2 separate regions of the Homo sapiens genome follow, and region 1 is linked to region 2. The links are contacts of gene promoters, found by promoter capture Hi-C in blood cells and fetal thymus (Javierre and others, 2016). All regions are on one chromosome and are shown on one strand. The core of a region is centred on a gene start or on the middle of the fragment in contact, and the rest is flanking DNA. Distances in the headings are between cores, read along the strand shown. Region 1 has its middle 20 kb from the start of CHST10. Region 2 holds the start of NPAS2-AS1 (NPAS2 antisense RNA 1).

Evidence for each region. The method cuts DNA at HindIII sites, captures the fragments that hold promoters and counts their contacts. A CHiCAGO score of 5 or more calls a contact.
Region 1: a contact is called between a fragment that was not itself captured here and the fragment with the promoter of NPAS2-AS1 in region 2, in 1 of 17 cell types (total CD8 T cells). The highest score is 5.1, in total CD8 T cells.

What each region holds. Positions count from the first base shown.
Region 1 is chr2:100,434,218-100,440,836 of GRCh38, reverse strand. No RefSeq gene overlaps it. Among named protein-coding and RNA genes, the nearest start is that of CHST10, 20 kb to the right of the region's middle. The HindIII fragment of the contact is 763 bases long and covers 1,672-2,434 here.
Region 2 is chr2:100,975,884-100,982,624 of GRCh38, reverse strand. NPAS2-AS1 (NPAS2 antisense RNA 1) reads left to right here and starts at 5,464. Exons shown (of 3, transcript NR_110213.1): 1 at 5,464-5,909. NPAS2 (neuronal PAS domain protein 2) reads right to left here. Exons shown (of 21, transcript NM_002518.4): 15 at 4,826-4,915; 16 at 248-394. The HindIII fragment of the contact is 3,647 bases long and covers 2,315-5,961 here.

The DNA of each region.
Region 1 (6,619 bases), core at 804-3,303, 540 kb after region 2:
AAACTCTAGACGACATTATTTTCTCCCTGTTGGGATATTTACCAATGATAAAACATTATCAGTGTTTTCCCGCTTTTCCCATGGTTGGAAGTCCCAAGGTATTCACTTGCTCTTCAGGGATGGCTACATACCCTAAAGGGCTATTCTTGGCTCACATACACATGCTTCTTTCTACTGGATCTTAACATTTTATTTTAATAGTTGGCTTCACATTAAGCAGCATATCCACACACAGGCCTATTTCAGAGAACAACCAATGCACGTAAAACAACTTAAAATGATGGTACAAAATGAATACAAACAGTCGCCTAAAATTTTTTCTGTTCTTTCTCATTTTTTACTCTATATGTACCCAGCAAGAAGGGGCTAGTGCTGTTTTCTGATTACGGTGGAGAGGTTTGGGGAGCCACAGAGGATAAGTCACTTTGTCCATGATCCTCCAGCAGGTCAGTAGTAAATAGGCACTGCGGTGGCTTTTACCAGGGCAAAGTAGTTAAGCCGTATGGCTAGAATTCCCCTTTCTGTGTGGCCATGGGAGGCACGTGTGTGAGGCTGGAAGTGAAGTAGTAGGAAGACCGGTAGTGAGTCAGGTGTCGCGCGCGGGTGCAGCCCATGAACGGTGCTGCGGCTTTGCGGGCACACCTCGGTGTGGGGCAGCAGCTGATCCACAGCTCTTCCAGTCCTGCTGAATTTCTCCTCGGGATTCTCTGCCTCCTGGGCCAGGTACATGTTTAGCTCTGTGGCAAAGGGCACCAGCCTTTCCCTCTGGTCACACGCATCACCCAAGTCTGAGGTGTGGAGGCGGGAGAGGAGGCAGATGCTGGTGGGAGTCCCTCCTTGTGGGTCCCAGCTTGTCCCTGCCTGCCCTGTTACATTCTTCTTTTCTTTCCTGAGATTTATTATAGGGCAAAGCCCTGTAATAGGTCTCATACTCTATATCATTCCCAGTGGCCATGTGCTTCTTTGATTGAACTCTGAAGGTTACATGAGCAATATCAAGATTTTCCTTTTTTTTTTTTTTTTGAGACGGAGTCTTGCTCTGTCGCCCAGGCTAGAGTGCAGTGGCGCAATCTTGGCTCACTGCAAGCTCTGCCTCCCGGTTCACGCCATTCTCCTGCCTCAGCCTCCTGAGTAGCTGGGACTACAGGCACCTGCCACCACGCCGGGCTAATTTTTTGTATTTTTAGTAGAGACGGGGTTTCCCCATGTTAGCCAGGATGGTCTCTGTCTCCTGACCTCGTGATCAGCCCGCCTCGGCCTCCCAAAGTGCTGAGATTACAGGCGTAAGCCACTGCACCCGGCCTAGATTGTTAAATGTTTCATCGGACCTAAAAGGGTGCCTAGCTCTTAGCTGATTTCCTGGATCTGGAAAGCAAGGAAGGAAAAAAGAGAGGGGAAAGGGGATTCTCTATAGAATGCGATTTTTTTTCCCACAAGAGAAAACTTTGCAGGGCAATTTCAAGATTTGGCAAGGAAACATATTTGGGGTTAAAATGTTTTGACTTCTTGCCTTATTTGTTATATGATGTTATGCCAGAGTCAGGTTAGAATGCAGACCTCGCTCTATAGGCTTAAAATAAAAACCCCTCTGATGAGACTTTATGGTTTGTAAGATGTGACTCCTCAGACCCCTTAGGTAGGAATTTGGGCATGTTAAAAAAAATTAAAGCTTAGTTCTCTGTCTCCTCCCTTTCTCTTACACACACACACACACACACACACACACACAGAGACACACAGACACACACACACAAATTTGAGACAGAGTCTCACACCGTTGCCCAGGCTAGAGTGCAGTGGCACAGTCATGGTTCACTGCACTCTTGACCTCCCTGGGCTCAGGTGATCCTCCCACTTCAGATTCTCAAGTAGCGGGGACTACAGCACATGCCACCACACCCAGCTAATTTTTGTATTTTAGTAGAGACGGAGTTTTGCCATATTGCTCAGGCTGGTCTCGAACTCCTGACCTCAAGTGATCCACCCCCCCTTGGCCTCCCAAAGTACTGGAATCACAGGCGTGAGACACTGCACTCAGCCTAATAGTTTATATTTTAAAAGACTCTGTGGTGCTGTTTCTCATAGACTTTATAGAAGCAGGGAAGAATCAGAACATGATCAAAACCATTTCAGGACTCAATGCCAAAAGATATTTTGTTAGATACATTATAAGGAAAAACGATTTGTGAAACTATGTGAATATTGCTCTGACATTTGCAAAATTATGCTGTCTACTTCTGAACTCCCCGAGACAAGAGAAACAATAACTGGACATTGACAGAAAAAGTGAGCCAAATTAAATAGAACAAGCATTGAATGATGACCTTATATATCAAAAGTTAGGAGGTACAGCCAAAGTAGTACTTACAGGGAAATTTAGAGCTTTAAGTACAAATATCAGAAAAGAGAAGGTTGGATATAAATAATCTAAGCTTCTAAACCAAAAAGAACAGGCAATAAAAGGATGAGGTGGAAGGAATTAAAGATAAAAGCAGAAATTAATAAAATAGGCTGGAACAGAGAAAATCAATAAAACCAAAAGTTGGATTTTAAAAAATATTAATAAATTAGAAATCTTAGCAAGACTGGACAAGAAAAAAGAGAAAACACAAATGGTGAATGTCAGGAATGAGAAGGGAAACCTCAATCCAGATTTGACAGATAATTTAAAAGATAGTAAGACATTATGGATAACTTTGTGCAAATAAATTCGAAAACTTGGTGGATTAGCCTGTTTTTATGCTGGTGGTAAAGACATACCAGAGACTGGGAAGAAAAAGAGGTGTAATTGGACTTACAGTTCCACATGGCTGGAGAGGCTTCAGAATCATGGAGGGAGGCGAAAGGCTCTTCTTACATGTCGGTGGCAAGAGAAAATGAGGAAGATGCAAAAGCGGAAACGTCTGATAAAACCATCAGATCTCACGAGGTTATTCACTACCATGAGAACAGTATGGGGGAAATGACCTCCATGATTCAATTATCTCCCACTGGGTCCCTCCCACAACCCGTGGGAATTACGGGAGTACAATTCAAGATGAGATTTGGGTGGGGACACAGAGCCAAACCATATCACTTGGATAAATGGAAAAATTTTCTCCAAAGCACCACATATTAAAACTTAAATAAAAAATAAAAATTTGGAATAGACTTATATCTGTTTAAAAAATTGAGTCTGTAATTAAGTACTTTCTCACAAAAGAATTTCAGCAGCAAACTTCCCTAGTGAAGTCTTCCAAACATTTAAAGAAGGGAAAATATTAATCTCAGAAAATCTCTCTGCAGCTATAGCGTTGTTGTGAGGATTAAACGACTTAATATATCTAATCGTTTGGTTTTTCTCTGTACTCAATCATTTCATCTGTTTGTAAAGATAGTTTTATTCTTTCTCTCTAAACTAAGATCCCTCCAGCATAATGTTGAATAGAAATGGCGATAGTGTATTGCTTTGCCTTGTTCATCCAACAAATATAGTGTTAGCTATAAGATTTGTGGGTTTTATTTTTGTTTGTTTGTAGGTGCCTTTTATCAGATTATGAACATTTTCTTCTCTATGTCTAGTTTGCTGAGAATTCTATCGAGTGGGTATTTAATTTTATCAAATGCCTTCTGCATCTGTTGAAATAATCACACTGTTCTTGCCTTTATTCTTTTAATGTGGTGAATTACATTGGTTGCCTTTCAAATATTAAGCCTGCCTTGCATTCCTGGAATAAACTCTACTTGGTCATGATGCATTAACCCTTTTCTATATAATTGAATTCAATTTGCTATTATTTTACTTAAGACTTTTCTGTCTTTTTGAGAAATACTGCTCTATAACTTTATTTTCTTGTAATGTGTCTAAAATTGTGAAAAAATGCATATTTTTTTCTGTAATTATGCTCTATATCACTGGTTTTAAAACTTTTGACCAAAACAATACAAAATACATGTTATATTGTGATCAGTGCACGTAGATCTGTGAGTGTGTGAAGTGTGTGAGTGTATGTATAAAATAAAGGTTTTGTAAAACAATCCTTTTTTTTTAGTAGGGTCTCACTCTGTTGCCCGGGCTGGAGTGCAGTGGTGCAATCACAGCTCACTGCAGCTTCCACCTCCTGGGCTCAAGTGATCCTCTCACCTCTGCCTCCCAAGTAGCTGGGATGACAGGCACATGCCACCACACCTAGTTAATTTTTTACTTTTAGTAGGGATGGGGTCTTATTAGGTTGCCCAGGCTGGTCTTGAATTCCTGGGCTCAAGTGATCCTCCCACCTCAGCCTCCTAAAGTGCTGGAATTACAGGTGTGAGCCACCACACCCAGCCTTATGAAATAATTCTTACCCTTCATAAGAAGGAAGCACTCTACTATTTCTGATTCAATTATCTTCTATTCTTTTAAATGATGGGTGGGTGTGAAGCACGAACTTGATTTTTGTGACCCACTAATAGGTTGCTATGTGCAGTTTGAAAAACATTGCTTGCATACAGTGTGCACTATGTAAGTGTTCGCTACTGTTATTAGTAATTTATGGCTCTCTAGAACCTTGCGCAGTACCTGGCATACAGTATGCACTTGAAAAACATCTATGAACAAATTACTTTGTTTATCAGTGGCTTTTAATAGAGTGGTTTCAATAGAGGGTTGAGAGTAGTGACTTCTGCTAAGATATTATTTACCTTGACTCTTACTAGGAATTAGGGTATCACTTGGATCCTTGTTGGCCTCTTACGACTGATAGCAAAGAAATTTGCTGGCCACCAGAAAGAAGAAAATATAGTTGCCACAGCCTGCACAAACTCATTCATGAAGGCAGTGTTCATCCCATTGTCACCTCAATTAGGTAAATTACTTTGGAGGACCCATATGTGGCTGATTTTCTTTTTTTTTTAAGAGACAGGGTCTTGCTCTGTCACACAGGCTGGAATGCTGTGGCATGATCTCAGCTCACTGTAGCCTCGACCTCCTGCGCTCCAGCAATCCTCCCACCTCAACCTTCCAAGTAGCTAGGACTATAGGCATGCGCCACCACGCTCAGCTAACTTTGTATTTTTTGTAGAGACAGGGTTTCACCATATTGCTCAGGCTGGTCTTGAACTCCTGAGCTCAGGCAATCTGCCCACCTTGGCCTCCCAAGGTGCTGGGATTACAGGCATTGAGTGTGGCTGAATTTTAACTTGAATTTGGATTCTTAATTTTCATTTAAAAAGAAAAGCCTTACAACTACAATGCAGCATTGAAACAGTGTCTTTGGGTGTACAAAGCAAAGCAATTTAAAGGCTGGGGGAATTATCAGGCCTCTCATATCACAGAATGCCCAAAGCTAGGAGAGGTGATTATAACCAATGGTAACCAATGTATACATTGCAATGGTCTATTTCAGTGTTTTGGATTACTCATTGTCAAAAGCCTCCAGCCAAGTCCAAAAAAAGAGCTTTTAAACATCCAGTAATGAGTGGTCCAATTAAGGGGAGGTAAGGGTGTGTAAAAAACTATTTTTACCAAATAGAAAATGCAGATAAAATGCTAGTATTCTTTGATGTGCTTCAGAATCACTCATTCAGTTCTGAGAACTCTCAAGGATCAAGATCACACACTCAGATTACGGAGGGCAGCTCGCTTCCACAATGCTGTGTATTATTGCCAGGGAAGCAGGGAAGTCTCTTTAGATTCTAAAAACAAAGAGGACTTAGGCTAAAACTTTGAAAATTGTCCTGAAAGAAAAAAAAATATGCAATTGCAAGTATATGTGATTACTTCGCAAAAAGAGTTTTGGTACAATCAGTGTAGTGTTTCTCTGCCCTGTTCCTACAAAAACTGTTTGTAAATGAACATAGAATCTTATTATAGTCAATGGCATGTGAGTACTGACTATATCCATCAGTTTGGGGCCTTGATTAGGTCAGTGTTCCCAAACCTGGCTGCTCACTGGAATTGTTTAGGGAGCTTTTAAAAATGAGGTTCTCCCAGTTTCACCTGGACCTACTTGAGTAACACTGGCCCACAGATCTGCACTTCTTTTACATGCTCCAAGTGGTTCCCCCCTGCTCAGAAGAATCAATGCACCTCCTTTGCAGCTAAATTAATATCAGGAAGAGATTTGGATGGTAAAGAAAATAAAGCACATGCGTGGTGAGTTTCCAACTTTGCAATTGACGCAGAGCTTTCCTGCTATCAACCCTAAAATATTCAGTAATGAGACAGCAGGAGTTTGTTACTTTTTTATACTTAGAGTCTATTCATGCTTTATTATTAATAGATCATCTCAGAGGGATACATTTTTTCATGCTATGTGAGCTCAATATTAGAAGAGAGATAGGACCAATTTTTCAAGTGCCAACCTAGCACTACATTACTTTACTATAAGAGATGGTCTCACAATTGCATTCTGAGCAACATACCCTGTATGAAAAAAGAAAATAGTTAACTTTATTTTAATTAGTATTCTGTTTATCATAAGACACATAAAAATAGGTCTCACCCTTCCATGATTGGAGAGAAAATAGTGATTATATTTTCAACCAACTGGATGGGTAATTATCTAGCTATATGCCACACACAAAAATCAACTTACTCATTTCTTACATTTTCTCCTTATTTCTCCTCATTTTTTCTACATTTTTCCTTCCATATTTT
Region 2 (6,741 bases), core at 4,215-6,714:
GAGCAGATGTGCCTGTCAGAGTGAGGGGCGAGGGAAGAGGACATCAGGGGTGTGGCCTGGAGGCAGGGATGGGGACCGGGATTTGTTCCTTGTCCTTTGCAGAGACTGCAATATGCTTTCATAAGCAAATGGGGCTTGGCAGGGCAGTTCACAGGGCTTGGGAGGAAGTCCTGGCTGCCCGGAAATGGCGGCAGGACCCCTTCCCACACAGCAGCAGGGACAGAGGCCAGCCCGGGAAGGGGATCACCTGGACGTTGGAGTCCTGGACCAGGCAGAGCTGCTCCTGGATCTTGTGGAGCTCTTCCTGTTGCCACCGGATATTGGCCTGCAGGATCCGCGTCCGCTGCTCTAGCTGGTCTTTGATGGTCTGGAACATGCTGAACTGTGCCGAAAACTTCAAGGTGGAGCCGAAAAACATAATCAGATGAAAGAGTTATTTCAGCCTTGCAGGCAGATCTTGCTGCTGCTCGGTCTGTACACTTCATTTCCGTCCCTTAGCCGTCTTTCCCAGCATCCCTAAGGAGCCCACGGCTGGGTCCTGGGCAGTGAACAGGGGCTGCAGATGAGGTCTGGGCATCCTGGGGGCCCCTGCACCAGTCTTTCTCAGGCTGGCTATGACAGCAGGCCCACCTGAATCTGCAGACCTGACTTACTGCCCTGCAGTCCGGGAGGGCCACAGAATTGGGACAGGATTTTGTAAGCAATGTTCACAAACTGATATTCCAAATTTAGAGAGATGAACAAATGGTTCTGGAGATGAATGTCAAAAGCAGGACATCAGAGAGTCCCTTTTCCCCCTCATTTAGGGCATAGCAGTTTGTACGTGACAGCTTCACAGGCATTTTTGGGTCCGGTCGTTATCCTAAATCTGATCCTGGCTCTCTCCAAAACAGCCTGGGATCATCAAGAACTTTTCATTCCCCCTCACCCTCCCCTCTCCAGCCTTACTTGCTACTATGCACGTCTCGGAAATCTGTGCAAAAAACGAACAAAACAATCACCCAGTCTTTGCCCCGAGGGCCCCCTCTCCAGTGTGACTGACCTCGGGGTAAAGACACGGTGATTGTTTTGGGTCTCCCCTTCCTTTGGACCCTTAATCCTTTCTGGGGAAGGAGGCTGGCCTTAGGAAACTTGCAGGTAGTCTCTGCCTCCTGTCCCGTCTCCCTCAACACAGGCTCCTCCGCTTCCAGGAAACACTGTTTGGGAGGGATGGCAGGAGGGGCCTGCAGCCCCTGCTCTGGGCTCTTCGGGGCTATGACTCCCATATCTTGAGGCAAATGAGTTTGCTAGATTCATTCTGTTTTTCTCTTTCTCCCTTTTTACCATGATTTAACCTCCACTCCCTCAATCTCTAGCCCAACAATCTCCCTAGTCTGTTTCCTGCCCGCTGTCTTTTGCAAATGCCCCCAGGGCCTCTCTCTTTTCCTCTGCCCTTTGACCTCCCAGACACAGGGAGGCAAGGAGAGCAGGAGAGTTGAGAAACAGGATGAAATAACTGAAAGCATAGCTTTTGAAGCAGCAAAATAATAATAAAAAGAACCAGTAAGAGTAAGAATAGCAGGTGCTGACATGTGCAGAGACCCTCAGGTGCCAGCTGCTGCCCCAGGCAAGTAGAGGTACGTGTGTTGTGCTTCACGACGAGCCCATGCCACCCCAAGAGGCTGCACCCTGCTGGAAATCACACAGCGAGATGGTGGCAGCACCAACATGTAAATCCCAAGTCTTAGGAGCTGAGCAAGGCCAAGAAGTTTTGCCCACAAGACACTCCCATCTTGACCAGAGTGGCTTTGACCTCAGACTTCCTTTAAAAGGAAGGTTCTGTTGCTACCCATGCATTTAAAAATACCTGTGCTGGGCCTGGGGCGGTGACTCATGCCTGTAATCCCAGCACTTTGAGAGGCCGAGGTGGGCGGATCACCTGAGATCAAGAGTTTGAGACCAGCCTGGCCAACATGGCAAAACCCCATCTCCACTAAAAAATACAAAAATTAGCCAGGCGTGGTGGTGGGCACCCGTAATCTCAGCTACTCGGGAGGCTGAGGCAGGAGAATTGCTTGAATCCGGGAGGCAGAGGTTGCAGTGAGCCGAGATTGCACAACTGCACTCCAGCCTGGGCAACAGAGTGAGACCCCGTCTCAAAAAATATATATATAAACAAAAATAACAAAAATTAAAAAAAACCCTGCGCTATCCCAGACTCACAAAAATCCCAGTCAGATTGTGACTAATCAGACCACTCTGTGAGGATTTTGAAAGGGAATTCAACGGAGAAAGCAAACGAGCTATTCCAAGTATTTAACGAAACACAAAAGCTTCTCTGGCAGGTTCTACGAAGTCGGGAAACTCAGCGTTGCCCCTTCCACCTGCAGTGGAGGCGGCTCATCGGTGCCCAGTTGGCTTGGAAAGGGAGTGGCGATGGGCTGGGTTAGGAGGTGGTGGCTGCCTCTCACGTTATTCGGATTTTTTCAAGGCCTCCCAGACACCCCATCATTAGGCCCTCCTTACCTTCTTGATGGTGATGTTTTTGATAAAGAGAGCTACTCTAATTTAAAGACATTTTAGAACCATAGTATGAAGAAAGAGGCTTTTTTGGAAAACCACCAGTTACCCAGATAACCGCTCCTCAGATTTTGGATTTCATTTTTCCCTTCTTTCCCTGAAGGGTGAGGGGAGTGAGAGAAAAATCCCAGAATCTCGTTGTTTCACATGAAGTGGGTATTTCACATGAAGTGGGAAGAACTGTGTGACTTGGAAAGTCAGTATTATGCAGGGATGTCTTAAAGAATATAGTTATTGGCTGGGCGTGGTGGCTCACGCCTGTAATCCCAGCACTTTGGGAGGTTGAGGTGGGCGGATCACCTGAGGTCAGGAATTCAAGACCAGCCTGGCCAACACAGCGAAACCCCGTCTCCACAAAAAATACAAAATTAGCTGGGTGTAGTGGTGCATTCCTGGTAGTGGTGCATTCCTGTAATCCCAGCTACTTGGGAGGCTGAGGCAGAAGAATCGCTGGAACCCAGGAGGTGGAGGTTGCAGTGAGCCAAGATGGTGCCATTGCACTCCAGCCTGGGCAAAAAGAGTGAAACTCCGTCTCAGAAAAAAAAAAAAAAAAAAAAAAAAAATATATATATATATATATATATAGTTATTATTAAATATAGTACACATGACAGACTAAGAAGTTCAATAAATGAAAAATCAGAATTCCAAAAGAGACTGCATCACACCATCGTGTCTTGTAAACACAGACATTCTTCATAATGCAAGACCCAGAAGTTAAAGACATTTTCATTTTATGCCCCTTTGGATTAAAAGGTTACTAATTTCTTACCAAATAGGCCTTGGAAATTTAAAGAGAAAAACAGTATTCAGGTTTTTTTTTCTTTTGGCCTAATGAGGGTGAATATAGGCAGTTTTAATGAGTAGATTCCAGAAGGGTAGCTTTTTTACACCAATCTTCAAGCCTGACTCTGGCAAGCAGCACGCGTTAGCATGTGTCTTACTCCAGGAATGCATGAGAGACCCCCACTAAGAGGGCATATGTTCCGAAATAGTTTTCATCAGTGGTGACAGATGTGTGCCAAGACAGAGAGGGGCACCTGCTGCTGAACTGCCGTCTGGGACGCAGCTCTAGCCTGTGGCCATGGTCTGGGCAGAGCTAAGTCTCCTATGAGGGAACTGAAGTCAGAGCTCAGGCCTGGGCAGGGTTTGTCACTCCCCGTGTTCAGAACTCCCTGCTGAAGCACATCCCTGCTGTCCCCCTGCCAAACCATCTGGCAACCTCCTACCCACCTTTCCGGGGCCAACTCAAGCGTCACCTCCTCCAGGAAGCCACGTCAGACTTCCCTGGGTAGAATATTTCCTTCACGGTTCTATAAAAACGCATGCCCTGCCACGGCGGCGTCTCTGTTTACATGCCTGTCTCTCCCTTTAGTTCTGAGAACTAAAAGCAAGGGCTGACTTACATCTTTACATCCCTAACACCTCGCTCACTGACTGACCCAAATAGTAACTCACCGAATGTTGTTGAAACAAGGATGGAATTACTCAGCAAAGCCGTAATCCTTTTCTTTTCTTTCTTTCTTTCTTTCTTTCTTTTTTTTTAAACAAATGTGATATTTATAGTGCTGGACTCACGGCTTTTAGATCCTTTCAGTCTTTCTATGACATGCAGCCCAATTCAGACCTTTTCTAAAATACCATGGCCAATTTGGAGTCGTAAAGAACAAGAGGAATGTGGAAAAGTGGCAAAGAGGTGAACAGAGACTGTTAAAAGAATTAAAAAAACAGACTCTGGACTTCTGCAGCAACTTGGATGGAGCTGGAGGTCATTATTCTAAATGAAGCAACTCAGAAATGGAAAACCAAATATCGTATGTTTTCACTTCTAAGTGGGAGCTAAACTATGAGGTCACAAAGGCATAAGAATGAAATGATGGACTTTGGGACTGGTGGGGCAAGGGTGGGGGGATGTGAGGCATAAAGGACTACATATTGGGTACAGTGTACACTGCTCGGGTGACAGGTACACAAATCTCAGAAATCACCCCTAAAGAACTTATCCATACAATCAAACACCACCTGTTCCCTCAAAACTACTGAAATTTAAAAAAAGAAAACCCCAGACACTGGAAAAAAGAACTTGGAGACGAGAGGGTGGGTGTGGGGGGAACCTCATGGCTCGACACAGGCCACACACACATTGGGAGGGACATTCCCCCACGTCAGGGCCTTGGTTGGGACCTAAGTGTACAAGACCATCAGCGCAGCACACTGCGGACTTCTGGCTTGAGAGGGGCTGCCCTTTCCTGGGTCCCAGACTCACCTGTGCCATGGGAGCGGGCGTGCTCTGCAGAACGGTCTGAGGCAGGAGCTGCTGTGTGAGGTCGCAGGACGATGGGGAAGGCAGAGGGGCCTGTGGGAGAGAAAGGGGCTTTGTTACCACTGCTTCTGCCATTCCAGGGGACAGGGATGTGGTCTCTTGGTCCGGTGGGTTCTCTGCGTTCCGCACTGGGGTGAACAGCTCCAAGTCAAGAGTTCTAGAAAGTATAGGTGTCTGTTCCCTGGCTGCACTGCTTCCTACGCAGGGCACAAGGGCAGAGCCCCTGCACAACTGGTGCAGGCTTCCACCCCACCACAGTGTGCTCTGCCAGGCTGCTGCTACCTGCCCAAGCCTGGTAGCTCAGCTCTACTTCCCTTCCCTTGCCTGCTGTCCTGGACTCCGCCCTGGGTGGATTTGGTTGCTCTCCTCCCAAATGGATTAATTCTTAGCGGTGTCATCAAGCAGGACGACGTGCGTGGACTGCTACCATGAGCTGCTGTGCGTCCGTATCTTTTCTGCTCAGCGCTAATGCAGATGGACAGACACGCCATGCATGTTTGTCCATGAACTCATCCAGGCAGTGAGGACTGGGGCAGTTTCACCAGCCTCTGCCCAGAACCTTTTAAGAGACTCCTGGGAAGTGAGCTGAGTCACATCTGCGCTCCCTGATCACTCGGGTGGGTGGGGGAGACAATGTATAGTAACAAGAAATGAAACACTCTGCTTCACGGGCTAGTGGTTTTCTAGTGGTTTTTTTTTTTTTTAAAGAACAGTGAAAGGACTCGTCTGAAGTTATTCCGACACGGCCCCTAGTTGCTAGGGCCTATATAAAAAAGCAGCTCAAATGGAAAGTGTCACCCAGGACAGCATTGGGAGGAAATGACACCAGGAGACCTTGTTTCAGTGAGAAATCCCAGGCACAGGGCTGATCCAGAAGCTGGTCTGGGTTCTGTTTCCCTGCGCAGCTGGGAGGAGACAGAAGCACTCTGGGCCTCCGTTGTTGGCAAAGTGAGTCACACTGGACAGGAGAGTCTGGAAGAATGGCAGGCACAGCTTGCAAGCGCATCTGGAGGTGGCTGGAGAGAAAGTAAGTGGTCTTTGCCACATTCTACTTGAAAATAAAACGCATCGCCCAAGCTTCTCAAGCAGGGTGTGCACAGCCTTTATGGAGACAGCAAGCAGGAAGGTGGCACGTTCACTCCATCTCCAAAGTGACAGTGAAGTGTGGGTGGGAGGGGTTTGGCAACTATCTGGAGGTGGCCCCTAAAATTCCTGGGTACTTCTCCCGTCTAGAAGTGGAGGTCTATATCCCTCTTCATGGGTGAGCTCAGGGCTGCTTTGACCAAGAGGTATGGCAGTGGTGATACTATATGACTTCCGTGGCTAGGTCACAGAGGTCTGCATGGTTCCTGCCTGCGTCTCCAGGTGTCTCCTCTTGGAACCTGGAGTCCACCACCATGCCAGGAGAAGCCTAAGGCTTGAGAGGCCCATGCAAGTCAATGACGGATGGCCTCAGCTGAGCCCAGCCCTCAGCCACCCAGCCCGGCTGCTGGACATTCATGTGCAGACACCATCTGGTGGGTGCATTCCATAGCCTAGGCCCACGAGATCCCCGACACCAAGGAGCAGAGAAGTGCCATCCCCATGATGCCCTTTCTGAATTCCTGACCCAGACTCCATGAACTTCATACATGTGGTTGCTTTAGGCCACTAAGTTAGGTGTAGTTTGCTACCTGGCAATAGATGACCAGAGTGGTGCATGCCAGTGACTTTACATATAGCCAGGGCCATACATCCCGATGTTCTGGAAGGATCTGGCACATGTTGGGGACGCTACCTGATATGTGCAGAGGTACATTTTTGTTGACACTGAGCTGCTCAAATATTTTCACCAGCATGAAAGGGGATTCAAAACAGAA